Regions from separate parts of the Homo sapiens genome. Here all the other regions are linked to region 3. Evidence: promoter capture Hi-C in human tissues and cell types (Jung and others, 2019). All regions are on one chromosome and are shown on one strand. The core of a region is centred on a gene start or on the middle of the fragment in contact, and the rest is flanking DNA. Distances in the headings are between cores, read along the strand shown.

Evidence for each region. Contacts are between HindIII fragments. The study calls those that stand out against the background at their distance.
Region 1: a contact is called between a fragment that was not itself captured here and the fragment with the promoter of DONSON in region 3, in 2 of the 25 tissues and cell types used here (H1 embryonic stem cells and mesendoderm cells).
Region 2: a fragment that was not itself captured here is called in contact with the fragment with the promoter of DONSON in region 3 in 5 of the 25 tissues and cell types used here (IMR-90 fibroblasts, heart right ventricle, hippocampus and 2 more).

Annotation. Positions count from the first base shown.
Region 1 is chr21:33,720,433-33,723,244 of GRCh38, forward strand. It overlaps ITSN1 (intersectin 1), which reads left to right. Exons shown (of 40, transcript NM_003024.3): 3 at 746-838; 4 at 2,156-2,219. Among named protein-coding and RNA genes, the nearest start is that of ITSN1, 79 kb to the left of the region's middle. The HindIII fragment of the contact is 4,833 bases long and covers 1-2,812 here.
Region 2 is chr21:33,793,400-33,796,443 of GRCh38, forward strand. ITSN1 (intersectin 1) reads left to right here. Exons shown (of 40, transcript NM_003024.3): 17 at 942-1,069. Among named protein-coding and RNA genes, the nearest start is that of ATP5PO, 120 kb to the right of the region's middle. The HindIII fragment of the contact is 8,773 bases long and covers 1-3,044 here.
Region 3 is chr21:33,587,306-33,590,438 of GRCh38, forward strand. DONSON (DNA replication fork stabilization factor DONSON) reads right to left here and starts at 1,379. Exons shown (of 10, transcript NM_017613.4): 1 at 1,016-1,379; 2 at 217-297. The coding sequence starts at 1,336. CRYZL1 (crystallin zeta like 1) reads right to left here. Exons shown (of 13, transcript NM_145858.3): 13 at 2,036-2,616. The coding sequence ends at 2,517. RefSeq lists a silencer at 920-1,609 and an enhancer at 1,068-1,567. The HindIII fragment of the contact is 19,336 bases long and covers 1-3,133 here.

The sequences.
Region 1 (2,812 bases), core at 142-2,641, 130 kb after region 3:
AGACCTAGGACTAAAGTCTGCAAGATCTCAGTCGTGAGTGGACATCTAGTCAGCCTAAGAGCTGAAACTGAAGGAAAACCTAAAACCCATTCTCTTTGGCTATTATTTCATATCAGGACATCCCCTGCCCTTCTTTTTTTTTAAGTCTGTTTCCTGCATACTGAGATACCTGTTTTTAAAAACAGCTTTAGTGAAATATAATTTATATTCCATAAAATTTACTAGCTTTAGTTGTATAATAATTTTTAGCAAATTATATAGAGTTGTGCAGCCATCACCACAATCTAATATATTAATATTTTAATCACCCCCCAAAAGATTTTCATGGATATTTATCACACTCACCTTCTTCTTTCATAACTTTTGCCTGTGGCATTTAAGGCACTTGAGAGTACAGTTTTAGGTTTAAGTTAATTTAGTCTGTTGCTTGGGTTTATGTAAGTAAATTATTAATTTACTATAATCTTGCTAACTATGGGATTATAAAACAAGTTTCTAAAAAAGGAATGTGTGCCTCTTCTTTTCTTTCCCTCCCATTCTCTCTCTTTCTGTTTCTTACATTTTGTGTCCTGTTTTACACTTTTCTAACTTTATATGCATAACTTCCAAGGACAAGAAGATGTGAATTTATCAAGTCTTTATAATACATTGACAGAATCTTGAAGTGCTGTGGAAATAGTGTGTGAGAGCATTTTGTTTTCCTTTTCTCACTGAATAATTTGTTTGTCTTTTCTTTGGATTTTAGGCAGCCTGGATATCTGGGCCATAACTGTAGAGGAAAGAGCGAAGCATGATCAGCAGTTCCATAGTTTAAAGCCAATATCTGGATTCATTACTGGTAATCACAGTCAGCATTTTTTCATTTTTACTTATCAGTAGTGCAGATGTCTGTGGAAACTCTATCATGCAAAGACGAGATGGGCAAATATGACCAAGGAGAGACATTTACCTGTTTTGCCCTAACCTTGTGCCTGTCCTTTTACAATTTTTTTACACATAATGGAATCATACCTTGTTTGCAATTTTTAGTGCATGTCAAACCACTTGTTTTGTGCATGTAATTTATGGGAATTGGTTAAGATCAAAGGACCAATGGCTCACACCTGTAATCCCAGCACTCTGGGAGGCCGAGGTGGGCAGATCCCTTGAGGTCAGGAGTTCCAAACCAGCCTGGCCAACATGGTGAAACCCCGTCTCTACTAAAAATAAAAAATTAGCTGGGTGTCGTGGTGGGCGCCTGTAATCCCAGCTACTTGGAGGCTGAGGCAGGAGAATTGTTTGAACCCTAGAGGCAGAGGTTGCAGTGAGCCGAGATCACGCCACTGCACTCCAGCCTGGGTGACAGAGCGAGACTCCATCTCAAAAATAAACAAACTAATTTTCCTGTTTGATTATTTTTCAGAATTCACTTTATAAAAAGTGGAATCTTTATTTCCAGGGGAATTGTTCTGCTACCATGCCCAGCTAATTTTTTCTTCTTCTTTTTTTTTTTGAGACAGAATTTCGCTCTTGTTACCCAGGCTGGAGTACAATGGCGTGATCTCGGCTCACTGCAACCTCCCCTTCCAGTTTCAAACGATTCTCCTGCCTCAGCCTCCGAAGTAGCTGGGATTACAGGCACCCACTACCATGCCCAGCTTATTTTTTATATTTTTAGTAGAGATGGGGCTTCACCATGTTGGCCAGGCTGGTCTTGAACTTCTGACCTCAGGTGTCGTTCTTAATCATTGTTATTTATTCTCTGTAAATACTTCAGAAGTACCCAGAATTTGGAGTATAGGTATTGGGAATGGCAAATAACTTTTTTTATAAAGTGAAAGTATGGGTCATCAGTTTCCTAAGGATTTCTATAAATGTGCTTTTGCACAATGGGTAGCTGTTCATATCTTAGTTAATAGCAGATTAATTAAAGTGGAAAATCTATGCCAGGAAATGGTAGGCCCTTTTTGAGATGATTTTTTGAATTCTAAAGTCAGTGCTGATGGATTCTTTTACTGTTGCCTATGGGCTTATCCTTGGACTTTTATAATGCACTCAACTGGTATTTATAGTATTACCAGCCTCTTTGTAAATTTTGTAATTTTGCTATTACAGGATTTCTGTCAGCTGTTGTTTTTTTTTTTTTTTCCTGAAACTTTTTCTGTTTAATTTACAGGTGATCAAGCTAGAAACTTTTTTTTTCAATCTGGGTTACCTCAACCTGTTTTAGCACAGATATGGTAAGTTGGAATTTTACATGAAATTTTACATAAGCATAAGGCAAAATAAAATATCGTTTTGTTCTATTTGGTAATATGATTTCTTATGTTATAAAAGGAGAACATGTATCTCTAGCCTGAAATATCTTGTTACTTCTTACCAGAGAGTTATGTCTGAAAAGTGTCTTTCTCATATGGAACTAAAACAAAACAACAAAAAAAGTGGTGACATTTGAATGACAACACTGTCAAAAAGTTGAATTTCCATGGAGACATCTAAATTTTGGTGTTCCTTCACCAATTAGTTTTGGCTTCACCCATATCACCCACATTTATTTGAATGTCCCACATTTCTTGCTTTATAATGGAATGATTTTTTATCTTTCATTGACTGAAGAATAAAAGGTAAAGAAAATATTTGAGAGTTAGTGCATGGTAAATCCATAACATTAATAGATAATAGTGAATTATTTGACTATCACAAATAGGCATTCAATCTTTTAAGCCACAGGAAATACAGAGAGTATAATAAAAAGGGTGGCAAATACAGTTTTGGATTCTTGGCTCATGGCTTTGGAGAGCCATGCTGAATTCTGTTGTCCTCTAAGATGTCT
Region 2 (3,044 bases), core at 387-2,886, 210 kb after region 3:
ACCTTGGCTCTACTGGGCACTTTGACTCATCTGATTTATCGCTGGCCCACATAAGACGAGTTTCAGTGACTCAATCTATTGGTGACCATTTGATTTCTATGGAATCAGGGAGTTTCTTCCTCAGCAGACGTTTCCTTATTCTTCCTATTTTCAGGTGTCTAAACTTGTGACTTGAGTACTTTAAATATCATAGAATGCATTTTATTTTCAGTAGCCTGCTAAGGAAATTACTGCTATTCCTGCAGCTAGTAGTATCAAGTGAGGAAATTGGATCCAAGGTATTCATCATCAAATTATAGCTTTTTACTTTTAACCTGATTGCTGGTTTAGTTTGGGGCAGTTAGCGACTTGAAGGATAGATTTAGTAAGAAAAGATGCTCTGGAAGAGGAGCAACTTGAAGAAAAATAGACCCTGGGGGGAAGAATTGAGGTCAAAGAATTGAGGAGCAAAGAGATGTCCATTTGTTCTAAGGCAGCTTAGTGAAAGGTGGAGGTGAGGTTTGAATGGAGGTAGTCAGTGAAGAAGAGGCATCTGTATTTTCAAAGCCAGTAAAGGTTGGTGTTGATTGATAATCAAAAGAAGCTTAAGTTTTATTCATGATCATCGTCATATCTTGGAACTGGTTACGTTCCATTATGATTGCTGAGCCTTTAGCAGCAGAGCTCACCTCCTGCCCTTCGCTAGCAGGTTTCTTCTAGAGCAGATCATGGAAAATGGTATAATGTGTATGGCTCATTAGAATGTAATCTTAAGTGGCCTTTGGAAATCAGTCATGTCAAAATGTGGTGTGATTCTAGCTTTCCAAGTTGACTTTTTCCAACTCTGAAACGTTATCTCCTAAGTGTCCTAGGCTTCCCACTATGAAATGTTGCATGCTGATAAATAGTTGATGTACCTGTCACTCATGTCGCTACATGAACTGTTTCTCGGTTAATTATAGGAACTAAGAGAAATACACAATAAGCAACAACTCCAGAAGCAAAAGTCCATGGAGGCTGAACGACTGAAACAGAAAGAACAAGAACGAAAGATCATAGAATTAGAAAAACAAAAAGAAGAAGCCCAAAGGTGAGTCTTCTTTGGATTGTGGACTCATCTGGAAGGAACTTTGAGGATTTACTATTCTTTGCTTGGCTTCTCCAAGTAGTTACTGCACCAGAAAGAGCCTTCAGTCTTTAGTGTGCATGTGAAGTGTGAGTGCAAACACAAACACGTGTATATATGAATCTTTGCATGTATCAGTACCCTCTGAAGTTTTTGGTTGGTTCCCAGAGCTCTCTCAAGCTACTACTATGTAGATAAATGGAATTATACAAGGAAATTGGGACACTTGGTGTGCTCATTTGCATGCTAATGGCCAGTTCACAGCCTTTTACTAACAGCTAACAGGGGTTGGAGTGCCTGGTTTAAAATCCAAGCCACTGAGCTAGTGCCCCACACAGGGCTTCTCCAGCAGGGTCAGGGTGGGCCTCTTCTGTTTTTCAACTGCAAATTAAACTTTAGTACAAAAGGGGGAAATTTGCCACCGCTGCTTAGTGTGTAGGATACAGACATGTTTTTATCTGTTTTTGTTTGAAGATTTATTTGTGATATTTTTATTTTTACTTGTAACTTACTGTAGTAAATTGTAGAAATTTGTGTCTGATTTTGTTACTGGGTATTTGCCTTTTAAATGTCAGTTAATTTTAGACTCCACGAAACAAAAATGACCAAATGTCCCAATGACAGCCCCGTAAATTATAAAAGTTGGTAATTGAAATTAGATTAAGGCCAGGCATGGTGGCTCACACCTGTAATCCCAGCACTTTGGGAGGCCGAGGTGGGCGGATCACGAGGTCAAGATATTAGGACCATCCTGGCCAACATGGTGAAACCCTGTTCTATTAAAAATGCAAAAAATTAGCTGGGCACGGTGGCACGCGCCTGTAGTCCCAGCTACTTGGGAGGCTGAGGCAGGAGGATCACTTGAACCCGGGAGGCGGAGGTTGCAGTGAGCTGAGATCATGCCACTGCACTCCAGCCTGGCAACAGAGCAAGACTCTGTCTCAAGAAATTAGATTAAAAAGGCGAAGAAACGGATACTTGAGGCAAGTCATTGACTTTAGTGGGCTGAGTTCAGTTAACCTGCCAAGAGCTGTGCATACTTTCTTATGGGTATATAGAGTCTTCTGTTTGTTTTTCAGTGCCAGTGGGGAGGTATCTGGGGTCCCAGACCAATTTACAGGATTGTTTTATGGTTTTCTTGGGGGTCAGACTAAGGATCTCCTCCTTGGATGTTGATTAACTCCATCCTTTTCTTACCCCCAGAGTTTATAAAATGCTTTTATTATTCACACTATACCACACTGAACTGTTAAATTCCTACAGTGTAGAAATAAACATAAAATACAGAAAAATACATAAAATAGCATAATACAGAAAATAGCATAAAAATATAATATGGAATATGTATTCCAATTATATAGATAAAAACTGCAAATTAACGTCAGAAATTAGATGGTTATACAGTATATATGGTGACCTTCATTGGTAGAAAATATAAAGTAATTCTTTTTTTTTTTTTTTTAATTTTTTATTTTTTGAGACGGAGTCTCGCTCTGTCACCCAGGCTGGAGTGCAGTGGCACGATCTCGGCTCACTGCAACCTCCGCCTCCCAGGTTCAACCGACTCTCCTGCCTCAGCTTCCCAAGTAGCTGGGACTACAGGTGTGTGCTACCACGCCCAGCTAATTTTTATATTATTAGTAGAGATGGGGTTTCACCATGTTGGTCTAGAACTCCTGGCTGGTCTAGAACTCCTGACCTCGTGATCTGCCCTCCTCAGCCTCCCAAAGTGCTGGGATTACAGGCATGAGCCACCGCGCCTGGCCACTGTTTTTATTATGGTTTTTTTGTTGTCATGAATAACCATATCCTTACCCCTCCAAAAAATGTTTTTATACTTTCTTAAAAGACATTTTAAAAATTGTAAATAAAATGTTTAAGATTTAAGTTTAAAGACTTCTGCATTAAAATATCACATTCATACAGAGTAGAAATAAAT
Region 3 (3,133 bases), core at 129-2,628:
ATCTTTACAGTCATCATTACTGTATCAAACCAACTCCTTTACCTTGGCTGATGCGGTATTTTCATCCCTGGTTGAGATGATCAAGCCTCTCTGTAAAACTACTTTCCAAGCAAAATGCTTCTGAGAAGTATAAATGTATTTTTAAAAATAGGCTCAAATCCTATGAAAAAAAAGTTTATACAAATACACATTCTAATGATATTTAAAAAGTATTACCTGAGGTAATTCAGTAACAGTTGTTCTTTCAGGAAACTTCTCTTCCCATAGCAAATCATTTTCTTGATTAGAATCTAAAAACTGAGGTTAAATATATTCTCCTTTAAAATTTAAAGGATGCTGAAGTTTGCGTTAAATATGTACAGAGCCTCACCTGGCATACATGTTTCTCAATAAACGCAAGTACACCTAAATTCAGAGGCACCCCATCCAATCTATGAGTTTCAACACTTCAGTTTTGTGTCTGAACTTTAGTATCAAAATTGAGGGGAACAGGGACCGGCGTTTCAAACCGAAAGATCCAAAAGGCTTTGGGTAAGACAGATGCTAGTGAATTCTGACCCCACGAATCCTCGACATTCCCCCATCTCCAGAATAATTTGGAGTGCGTGAGAGAAGGGAGGCCCTAAATCACGGGGGAAGCAGGGCTTGTCACCTGCCCCATCGAACAGCGTCCTTGCAAGATGGGGGCTCTCAGGGTTTTTCGAGCTCTTTTCCAAGTCACCTCTAAGTCCTCTCCAAGGGGCTCCTCGCTGCCCTCTGGGGCCCCCTCACTTTCCTCGGGAACGCGTCCCGTGAGCACAGCCCGCAGCGGGGTAGCCAGGGGAGCGCTCTTCCCACAAACCCGGCCTTGCCAGAATCGCGGCTCCCAGGGCGGGGTACCCTAAGGCCACGGGCGGCCGAAGTCTTCGCGCCCATTTCCTTGCCTCGAACGCGAGGACTTTCCATCCCCCATTCACAGCTGGCTCAACCCACGAAAGACAAGAGCCCCTTGGCGGCCAGGCTACAAGACACTCACCGGGACCGGGGCCTCCGGCTGCTCGCGGGCCGGCCCGTCGGGGGGCTCCGCGGCGACCCGCGGTCGGTTGTCCAGGCGGGCGAAGGGGTTCCTCCGAGCAGCGGCCGGGCCGCCGCCGCTGCCACCGCCTCTGCCCCCCGCAGCAGGGAAAGGGCGAAGAGGCAGCCCCGCCACCAGGGCGGCTCGGCGGGCCGCCGGCTCCGTCAGCTCACGGGGCGGGGAGGCGGCAGCTCCACGGCTCCGGGCCCTTTTCCGTCGGAGCCGCACTACCTCGGGCGGCTTTCGGAAGCCCGGTGAGTAGCCGGGCACCGAAAGGGCCATGACGCGCGGCGGCTGAGGGTAGCCGGCCGCCCTACAGAGACTTCCCGCGCGCGCCGGGCCCGCCCCTGACGTGGCGCCTCGCCGAGCTCCCGCCCCCGACGCGGCCCCGCCTCCGCCCCCGCCGGTTCCGAGCGGAGCATGCGCAGTGGGCAGCCCGCGAGACGCAGCCCGCAGCGGCGATCCCGGGTGGCCGTCAACGCCCACTGTCCCAGCGGTGACCCTGCCCTGGCGCTTCTGCCAGGTCCTCGGCCAGAGTCCAGTCGCCAGGTTCAGCGACGCTTCTGGAAAGTATGCGATCCAGGGCGCTGATGTGCACTACCCTGTGGGGCACCGAAATAGCTTAACTCTATTTAAGCCCGCAGCAGGGATGTGATCAGCCCGGGGTTTGGCGCCTGGATGAAAAGGAAACAAACTTGAGCTGCGGCGATGGGCTGCTGCTTCCATAAACTTAAGAGAGGGCAGTGGCTACTGCTCTCAAGAGGCGAGGAGAGGGGACTAGGCCACCTTCCTCAACCCCCAGAGAACTCAGATAAGACGTCAGCACGCTTCCTATGCCAGCGCAGCCTACCGACATCCCTCCCTTCCCCGTTCCCAGTGCCTGGTCATCTCAGACTTCCAGGCAGCTGCCACTGGCAAGTTAATGGGATCTTCTTTGATCCTGGGGAAAGCCGGAGTGAATGAATAGTTGAAAACACAAAATTTAAGTGCCTATGGGCTAAGTCTTTTAAGACTTCAAAATATACTCAAATGCTTAAATTATGACAGCAAAGACTTAAGGAAGGTGTTGAGAACGGAGTTGATACAAAATTAATACGTTACTTTGATAGCTTAGCAAAGGCCTGCAACAGCTTTTATCAAGAGTAGTGTGACTTTTGCTGAAAGCAGCAGTTTTCTTCATGGAAGGAATTTTATAGCAGGGGCAAAATATATAGAAACAATGAAAAGGTTTTTAGAAAAATTCCCTTAAGATGTTAATTATAGAATTATCTTGATCATTTGCACAAGAATTTTTCAAACACTTTTCAAATGTGTCAACTGAGCATCTTGTCTTAGCAGAGAAACGTGCTTAAAAATGCAACTTGTTTTATCTTCCTTGGTTTTTCTCAACAATTTCCAAAGAAAATTCTGGCTTCAAATACTGGAATATGTTCATCCGACTGAGGTCTGAGAAAGAAGAAAATTAAAATTGAACAACTTGCTTTTTTCTTCCTTGATTTTTCTGAACAGCTTCCATGGAAACTTTTGCCTCATACAGTGGAATGGGTTCATCCAACTGAGGTCTGAGAAGGAATGAAATTAGAAATGTCAGGTCTAGTTAAAGATAAGTAGAACAAACAGGGTGGTATATGACAAATGCTAGTGCTCAAATCTATTAGTGTATTAATTAATTTTTTGAGACAGAGTCTGGCTCTCTCATCCAGGCTGGAGTGCAGTGGCACGATCTCAGCTCACTGCAACCTCCGGCTCCCGGGTTCAAGCAATTCTCATACTTCAGCCTCCTGAGTAGCTGGGATTACAGGCATGCACCATCAAGCCTGGCTAATTTTTGTATTTTTAGTAGAGATGGGTTTCACCATGTTGGCCAGGCTGGTCTTGAACTCCTAGCCTCAAGTGATCCACCCACCTTAGCCTCCCAAAGTGCTGGGATTACAGGCATGAGCCACTGCACCCGGCCTCAAATCTATTACTTTAAGTAATTCAAACAAATTCGTCCATTAGTGTTTCCAATGTTAAAAGTGGTTAAGTTTTGAAGGAAAAAAATTATCTACTTTATTTACTCCCTCTTTTTTTCTGAGA